Regions from separate parts of the Homo sapiens genome. Here regions 1 and 3 are each linked to region 2. The links are contacts of gene promoters, found by promoter capture Hi-C in human tissues and cell types (Jung and others, 2019). All regions are on one chromosome and are shown on one strand. The core of a region is centred on a gene start or on the middle of the fragment in contact, and the rest is flanking DNA. Distances in the headings are between cores, read along the strand shown.

Evidence for each region. Contacts are between HindIII fragments. The study calls those that stand out against the background at their distance.
Region 1: the fragment with the promoter of NBR1 here is called in contact with the fragment with the promoter of TUBG1 in region 2 in 1 of the 25 tissues and cell types used here (aorta).
Region 3: a fragment that was not itself captured here is called in contact with the fragment with the promoter of TUBG1 in region 2 in 1 of the 25 tissues and cell types used here (spleen).

What each region holds. Positions count from the first base shown.
Region 1 is chr17:43,169,711-43,172,728 of GRCh38, forward strand. NBR1 (NBR1 autophagy cargo receptor) reads left to right here and starts at 1,504. Exons shown (of 21, transcript NM_005899.5): 1 at 1,504-1,592. LOC101929767 (a long non-coding RNA gene) reads right to left here and starts at 693. Exons shown (of 2, transcript NR_110868.1): 1 at 416-693. LOC124900391 (a long non-coding RNA gene) reads right to left here and starts at 1,254. Exons shown (of 2, transcript XR_007065760.1): 1 at 706-1,254. It also overlaps a transcript of BRCA1 not described here and the pseudogene BRCA1P1. RefSeq lists enhancers at 325-534, 805-854, 1,105-1,214, 1,535-1,644. The HindIII fragment of the contact is 14,047 bases long and covers 1-3,018 here.
Region 2 is chr17:42,608,192-42,611,186 of GRCh38, forward strand. TUBG1 (tubulin gamma 1) reads left to right here and starts at 1,492. Exons shown (of 11, transcript NM_001070.5): 1 at 1,492-1,595; 2 at 1,917-2,029; 3 at 2,232-2,399. The coding sequence starts at 1,547. RETREG3 (reticulophagy regulator family member 3) reads right to left here and starts at 1,183. Exons shown (of 9, transcript NM_178126.4): 1 at 895-1,183. The coding sequence starts at 1,133. RefSeq lists an enhancer at 1,065-1,174. The HindIII fragment of the contact is 7,237 bases long and covers 1-2,995 here.
Region 3 is chr17:41,970,769-41,973,468 of GRCh38, forward strand. It overlaps CNP (2'',3''-cyclic nucleotide 3'' phosphodiesterase), which reads left to right. Exons shown (of 4, transcript NM_033133.5): 3 at 1,124-1,263. Among named protein-coding and RNA genes, the nearest start is that of CNP, 5.3 kb to the left of the region's middle. RefSeq lists an enhancer at 2,405-2,524. The HindIII fragment of the contact is 5,813 bases long and covers 1-2,700 here.

The DNA of each region.
Region 1 (3,018 bases), core at 254-2,753, 560 kb after region 2:
CCGGAGCATCCCTTGGGCCCCTGTCCCTTTCCCGGGGCTCTTCTACCTTAACCCAGAGCAGAGGGTGCAGGCCTCCTGAGCCCAGGGGCCCAGTTATCTGAGAAACCCCACGGCCTGTCCCCCGTCCAGAACGTCTCAGCGAGCTCACGACGCGCAGTCACGTTTTTTTCCCCCCCTCTACACTGCAGATGTGGCTCCCAATGTTGACGTTGGCCAGGACCTTTGCAAACAAGCCAGGCCAAAAAGTTTCAATATTTACACTGGCTGCTTTAATAAGGGCATTGATCTTATCCTCCGTAAAGGTCACCTCATAGTCCTGCAGAATGAGGGCAGAGTAGATGCAGGCAAGCTGGGAGACGGAGGCCATAGCGCGGGCGAGTGTGGGGCTGGGGCTGCCGGACGCGGTGCTACTCACCGGATGAAGTGAGGGTCTCACCCCAACGCGGCCTTAGCTTCCTCGGAAGGACCGAACACCTTGGCGGCAGCCGAGGAAAGGGGTTCCACAGTTTTAATTTATCTGTAATTCCCACGCTTTACTGTTGCCACGGAAACCGCTGAGCAATAGCCTCTCAGAATAGGAAATCAAGACACAGTCAGAGGAAGGGCGGGACAGAAAGAGCCTAGCATCTCTCGGGGCTCTGGGTTGGCCACCCAGTCCTCCCCTGGTGACATAAAAAGAAAGAGACGGAAAAGGAAGAATTCTACCTGAGTTCGCCGTAAAGCGCCCGCCCTCTCGCCTCTACGCTTCCAGTTGCGGCTTATTACGTCACAGTAATTGCTGTACCAAGGTCAGAATCGCCACCTGAGGCCTGAATATCAGCGTAAGATAGTGTCCAAAGCAGTCTTAAGAAGAGGTCCCATTACCCCACTCTTTCCGCCCTAATGGAGGTCTCCAGTTTAGGTAAATAAAAGGATTGTTGGGAGGTGGAGGGAAAGAACTACTATTTCCAACATGCATTGCGGAACGAAAGGCCTTGGCCACACTGTTCCTTGGAAACTGTAGTCTTATGGAGAGGAACATCCAATACCAAAGCGGGCACAATTCTCACGGAAATCCAGTGGATAGATTGGAGACCTCCGCGGGCTTATACATGTCAACAGTAATGGATTGGAGTGTTGTTATGTTCTCCTATCTTGAGAGCAGAGACTAGGCCAAAAAAAGATACCTACAACTCCTAGGAAGACTACGATTCCCATCCAGCCCCACGAGTCTCGGGCAAGTAGTCCTCTAAGGTCAGTGGCCTGCGGGGACGCAGTGGGCGCCGAATTTGCCTGGGGAAGGGGAAATCCGCTCTGGCCCACATCTGCGCACTCCTAGTTCCGCCCCTCAGCCTCAATGTTTGTTATTGTTGTTCGGGTTCAGGTTGCTTCTGCCCCGCCCCATCGACGCAATCTCCACCAATCAATGGCGTGGTCGTTTTGAGGGACAAGTGGTGAGAGCCAATCATCTTGGCGAACACTCGGAGAAACAGGGGACTAGTTACTGTCTTTATCCGCCATGTTAGATTCACCCCACAGGGATAGCGGCAGAGCCGGTAGCGGACGGTCCTTGCATTGGCCTCCGGCAGGCGCCCCCCGGGGGCGGGAAGCTGGTAAGGAAGCAGCTGCGGTTACCTAGGGGTGGGGTCACGTCACGCTAAGAGGGTTTGGGGAAGTTCAAGGGAGGAATCCTGCAAAGAAGAGGGGCGACTTTTTCCGTGTTTCGGGACAGCTAATCTTTTTAGTGACAGGATGAGAGAGCCCTTCATGTTCAGAGGGACCGAGTTGGCGAGAAGCGCCGGAGAGTTGGAGAGTCTGTGGGTCAGAACATCCGGCTTCTACTGATGGAAGGCCACGACTCCCCAGTGGAATGAGGGCCTAGGCAAAGAAAATGAGAGAGCCCTCGGGGTAGTGACACTGTCTTGGGAACATGGAGTGCTAGGAAACGAAAACTGGAAGACTAGGATGAACTCTGCAAGTAAAAAAATGACACTACTTACACATCCTTCTCATCCCATCCTCGTTTTTTCGAGACCTTAAAGAGATCTCCTTGGTTAGGGACCTTCGGTTTTGGAAAGGCACTGTTTTTCCTTTTTGTCAAACACTCAGCTTTCAGGCCACACTTTTTTGAGACAGAGTCTTGCTTTCTCAAAGACCAACCCAGGCTGGGCTTGAACTGCTGAGCTCAAGCGATCCTCGTGCCTTGGCCTCCCAAAGTGCTGGGATTACAGGTATAAGCCACCGCTCCCGGCCTCAGGTCACACATTTTAAAGCCTGGATAACTTGGCTTGTAAAGGCCTCTGGTGGAGACAGTAATCAAAGCTCAGGTTGCCAGGTCTGTTTCATTAAAGGGATTTTGTTGAGGCTGAAAAAAAAATCGACGTGGAGGAAAAGCTAACTTGTGCCAAGCAAAGGTGAGTCAGTGGCATGGACTTACAATAATGCCAGTTATGAAAGCTGAAGGCCTAAGACCCAGCTATCTGACTCTACTGGCTGTAGACCTAAGGGGCAGATAGGGTTAACCATAGCTTTGGTGTTTACACACGTTTAAGATTAATGCTCCTGCTGAAAGAATTTTTTTACATGTCAGCCAAAGAGAGTTCCTTATGAAGACCTGGATATGGTCCAGCCAAGCTAGAATCTCCCACTTCCTGTTTTCTCTTAGTTGGCCCACCAGCTGGAGGAGCTCCAGAGTATCTAAATTTCCAATTGTGTAATTTGAGAAAAAGAGAGGAAGATTCATTTCCTTCACAAGTAGGGAAGTGTGTTTCTTGAAGTTGGAAAGTGATATTTCAGAATACCCACTTTTGGCGGACTGAGTCACTTCATTTCCTTGATTTTTTGCCTAAGGTCCTGGGGAATTGACAAAGATTCTCAAATTTTAAGGACCCCAATAATTACATTTCATATGAATGAATACTAGATGTCAGCAGGATTGTTGTTAAGAGACTAATATTATTTTGGTGGTGAACTTGGTTCTTGGTAGAAACAAAGAATGGAGAAAATTGGGGGATAATTGTCTTAGGGTTTCAAAAAAGT
Region 2 (2,995 bases), core at 242-2,741:
GTCAGTTCCCTTGGAACCTCCTCCATTACAAATAAATCCAAAATTATGGTTGGTAGATCCTATGAAGTCCTAGGTCCACTTCAGGTGATGACAACTGAGAGAAGCAGCAGTTCCATTTTCACAGAGCATGACACACACAAATAAAGCATATTTACAGTGCTACTTTTCCAGCTCAGGAAAACTCACACACAGTATTAGACATCAATTTCCTTGCCTATAAACCATGGCTAAGGATGCCTCTCTAATTCCTTGGAACAGGGAGGAGTTACAATCACAGGTGGCTTTGACACGCGTGTAATCTCCGTCATCATTTCCTAACTGTTCTTTAAAAGCTTGTAATTTTCTTTCAATTTTCAGCTTTGGGGGCTCACACTGACGCTTAGACTTCATAAACTTCCTTCCTAGATATATAACATGCTAATTCATGCGAATCGCTCAAGCTTGTTTTATAATCACACCTATGGATACCTTTGCAAGACTTCACGCCTCTACTCCAACAATAAACTACTAAAACCTCTGGAAACAATCTAGAACTTGCACTTGAGCAGACAAGAGAAAGGAAGTGATGGCTTTAAAGGGACGCAGCTTTGTCGGGCTCAAAAGAGGAGCCCTCGCTCACTCTTGAGCGGCTCAAGATGTTACCAGAAGCTCCCGCCAGATGTGCGGGGCGGGGGTGCGGGCACAGGTAAGGCAGAGAAGATGGGTGGACGGCCCTGGGAAGAACTAGGGTGCCGAAGCCTGCAGGCGGGATGGAGTGGAAGGAGGTGAGGCAAAATTAGGCAAGTACAGGAAGGAGCCAGTGCAGCGAAGAAAACAGGGCAGGCGAGAAGTAGAGCCCTAGAGGAACCAACGAATTCGGGACTCGGAGGGTTTCCGAGGGTCCAGTTCTCTCACCAGAAAGCCGCGTTCAGCCCCAGGCACCACAGAGCGCTCCTAGCTGGCCGCTCCCACACCAGGGCTGCCTGCACCCGACTCAGCAGAGGCTCGTAAGGCCCCAGCACCTCCACCAGGGCCCGCTGCGCCGCCTCAACCTGCTGGTCCCGCTCCCAGGAGCCTGACACATCTCGGCGGCCCCTGAAAGTCGACCCCGAAGCCGGGCCTGGGGTCGTGGGAACCCCTTCGGCCTCAGCCATCTCCCCGCGGCAGCCACAACATCCGGGGCCGTGGCCCGACAAGTCACAATAACAGCAACTGCGCAGATGCGCGATTCGGCGGGGGAGGTGGCTTCGCACCACAGCGCGCTTGCGCGCAGGCCCAAGCAGGCGCCCACCCAGAGGGGAGGGAGGACGCCGTACCCCGCCCTCACTGAGGCGCGGAGCCGGATCCGGAGGCGCCGAGCCGCATCCGGAGCCGCGCACGCGCAATCTGCATGAACGAAGGCCAGTGCTTAAAGACGTGCCATTCATTGCCAGAACTCGATTCTCATTGGAGCGGAGGAAGTTCGTGGGTGGAGCTGGTTGTTTGGCGCCTGCGTCTTGCGGCGAGCGGGCTGGCGTGCGGCGCCGTTGCGGGCGGGAGCGGCTGCAACGCCGGTGCCTGAGGAGCGATGCCGAGGGAAATCATCACCCTACAGTTGGGCCAGTGCGGCAATCAGAGTGAGCGAAACTCCGGCCCCTCAGCTAGCCAGGTTCCTTAGGGTCAATGGGATCTCGCTGTGGGATCCTGGACTCCATCTGTCCTTGCCAGAATCGTAGTTCTCTGAAAGGCGAGACATCCCTGACCCAGTGTCCACTTGCCCAACCCCGAGGGGCCCTCCCCTGCCCAGTCCCTGGCGTACAGTCCTTTCCTCAGACACGGGAGAGTCCTGCGGCTTGACTTCTTATCCCTGGACGCAGGCGCCCAGTCCCCCGGCTCCTGATTGGAACCTGCCCGGACCTAGATATCTTCTTTCTCCCCTGCCCGCCCCTTCCCCCCAGTTGGGTTCGAGTTCTGGAAACAGCTGTGCGCCGAGCATGGTATCAGCCCCGAGGGCATCGTGGAGGAGTTCGCCACCGAGGGCACTGACCGCAAGGACGTCTTTTTCTACCAGGTGCCCCCAGCGACTTGGCCGGGGGCGGCAGTTGCCCAAGGGGGCGGAAGGGAAGGGAGTGGCCTGGTACTGGGAACCCCGCTGGGCAGTAGGGCCAGGCGGCTGGCTTGAGGAGGGAGGGCCGGAGGGAGCCAGAGTTGGGAGGACTTCGGACTTGGGCCGCCCTAGCTGATTGGGCCCCCTCCTGGACTCCCCTTGACAGGCAGACGATGAGCACTACATCCCCCGGGCCGTGCTGCTGGACTTGGAACCCCGGGTGATCCACTCCATCCTCAACTCCCCCTATGCCAAGCTCTACAACCCAGAGAACATCTACCTGTCGGAACATGGAGGAGGAGCTGGCAACAACTGGGCCAGCGGATTCTCCCAGGTCGTTTCCTATTCCCTGGCAGGGCCCACAACTCGCTGGGTAGGGACAGGCTCTATGACGTCCCGAAGAGAGGGAAAACCGGATCAGGGATGTATGAATGCTGGAGGGAGAGACCTGGCTGCAGGGAGTGGACTATGTAATATTGTCAAGCGCCTACACTAGCTAATGCAGTGTGCCAGGTCATTCTAAGTGCTTTACATATATTAATTTTTCTAAATCTCCCAACAACCCTAGAAGTAAGTACTACAGGTCCACAGTCCCTTATCTGCCTTTCCAGGATCCAGAAAGCCATGAAACCAAAGGACATTTCATAACTAGTTTATCAGCAAAAACAAATTTCAATGAAGACAGGCTGTTTTATAGTTTCTTTTTTTTAATTTTTATTTATTTATTTTTTTTGAGACGGAGTCTCACTCTGTCGCCCAGGCTGGAGTGCAGTGGCACGCTCTCAGCTCACTGCAACCTCTGCTGCCCGGGTTCAAGCGATTCTCCTGCCTCAGCCTCCCGAGTAGCTGGGATTACAGGTGCTTGCCATCACGCCTGGCTAATTTTTGTATTTTTAGTAGAGACGGGGTTTTACTGTGTTAGCCAGGGTG
Region 3 (2,700 bases), core at 21-2,520, 640 kb before region 2:
GGCCTTCCTCCCCTGTGGAGGGCGAGACATCCTCATGGGGACTCAATTCAGAACATAACAGGAAAAAGCGAGTGACTCCAAAGACAGCCACAGGTGTGGAGTCTGGAAATCAAAATCACAGATACTCCACTCCTCTTTGTGTCTTCCAGCCCCATAATGTCACCCCATTATAGTCCAAGACCCTTCCTGTACCAGGAGGCCCCCCCATAGGCCTGCAAGGTGTGTATTAAACTGATGGTGACGTTGTGACTGCTTGTCCAGATGGGCCCCTGAGTGAAATGGGGCACTACTGATAGTTCCCTGGTGGTCCTGGGAACACTGGGGTATATGGTCACCCTAACTGTTGTGCTGGATTGATAGATAGGGTTGGTCACTTGCCCGAGGCCGATGGCTGGTACATGGCAGAGCTGAGATATTCACTGTGTTCTGGCTGTTTCCACCGTACCATGTTGTTCCCAGCCCTCTGTTTTCTTTCCACCCCACTTCCCATGACTTGCTTCCCCTTTGAGACGTGGTGCTAGTAAATCTTAGATTCCCTTGGCCTGTACTGCCTGCCTCTGTTACAAATGCCTTAGAGTTTGGAGAAGAGATGGAAAGATCTATACAATGTAAAGCCAGAGAATTTTAACTTTTTTTTTTTTTTTTTTGGAGACGGAGTCTTGCTCTGTTGCCTAGGCTGGAGTGCAGTGGCACTATCTCGGCTCGCTGTATCCTCTGCCTCCTGGGTTCAAGCAATTCTCTACCTCAGCCTCCCAAGTAGCTGGGATTACAGGCGCCCGCCACCACGCCTGGCTAATTTCTTTGTATTTTTAGTAGAGACGGGGTTTCACCATCTTGGCCAGGCTGGTCTTGAATTCCTGACCTTGTGATCCACCCACCTCGGCCTCCCAGAGTGCTGGGATTACAGGTGTGAACCACCGCACCTGGCCTGAGAATTTTAACTTTTTATTGCTCTAAAGTTGCCATTAGTTTGACCAACTAACCAATGAATGAGCTGTAGTGGGTTGCTGGAGAGGTGATGCTTAGTGTCCGAGTGTTTTGCGCTGGGCCTCGGTGGTCCTGGTGGCGGATGTTGGTATGCCCCTGCTCCCCTGCCCTGACTGCACCCGTTTTCTCCCGGCAGTCGTCCCTGGGGATGAGCCCAGGGAGAAGATGGACTTGGTCACCTACTTTGGAAAGAGACCCCCAGGCGTGCTGCATTGCACAACCAAGTTTTGTGACTACGGGAAGGCTCCCGGGGCAGAGGAGTACGCTCAACAAGATGTGAGTCTTCCCCAGGGACACATGGGGGAGGTGGGAGGTTGGGGGAGAAGGGGCTGCAGCATCTTCTGAAGATAGGTACCGGTGCCAGGCAGGGACCAAAAACCAGATGGCAGCTCAAGAAAAATGGCATCTCCTCCTCCTAGCTCCCCTGTCCCCAGGCGTAGCTGCATAGACCTCAGCCGCAGGTTCTAAGGAGCCTGCCCTGGCAGTACTGCCAGCCTGTGCATTCACCTGCCCCCAAGCACCTTCGCCTTCTGCAGATTCATGGAGAATGCTGGTCCACAGTGGGCTCCTGCTCTGGTCTCTCTGAGCCTGTTTTACCTTCCAAAGACTAGGAGTCCTTCGCCCCCAGGGAGCCTGGTGCACTGAGGTCCCCATCCCTGTCCCCAGGTCTGAGGTCTGGCCTGGCCCCAGAGTGAGGGAGTTTCATACGATAATGAAGCTTATTGGCTAATGGGTACGAGACCTTTCTGCACCACACAGCTGGCACCTTACACCCACAGCCACTGACAGTGATCCCTGAATGCCAGGCATGTCACCCATATCCACAGTCTCCAACTTCCAAGTGTCCACCCCCAAGCCCACTCTCCCACTTCTCTGCCTAGGTTAGCACAATCGTTTGTTTGTTCACTAGAGTGTCCTCCCAAATGGAAGCTCCCCTGAGGGCGAGTTTTTAAGTTTCGTTGACTCCTGTGGTTCCAGCACCCTAGCATAGTGGAATGAATATGTAACACCTGAGCTACCATCCCTAACCATGCCTTCATTTAGCATTTATTAACTACCCATTTCATGCCAGACACTGTTGGGACAAGGGATCGTGAGCAAAAATAGAAAAGCGTTTATGCTGAGATGGGATGGGCTGTCTCAAAGAATCAGATAGAAGCAGACATATCATCAGATGGGAACCAAAGTGTAAGAGCAGGTTTCCATCAAGGGCGAGTCTGACCTCAGTCTGACCTCACCCTGTCCTCCAGGGCGCTGTCTGGGTCCCAGGGGAAGCTGAGCGGTGCCAACAGTAGCAGCTGTTGTGTGCGCGGACACCCCTGTGGGCTGTTTACCTAGTCACTCTCATAACCACATTAACTCTGAGGTAGGCTCTGGTTCTCCCTGTTTTACGGGTGATGAAGCCAAGGCACCGAGAGGTCAGCCAGCCCGCTGAGGCCGGAAGCCAGTGTGCAGGGAGCTGGGCTCCCTCAGGAAGTCCGGCTGTCCCCGTGTGGCCCTGTCTGAGCGCCTTCGTGTTTCTCACTTGAGCCTGGAGCGCCTATGGAAGGTGCGTGCCGCAGTTGTTAGTGGATGCTGGGCCTATACCGACCCCTGCTCAGCTGTGCTCACTTCTGTTAGACTTCCCCTTCTCTCCTCCAGGAGGGACCCTCCCTGGGTCAGCTGTTCCTCAAGAGCCTGCCATCTCTAGCTTGGGCCCCTCTTTCTCACTCT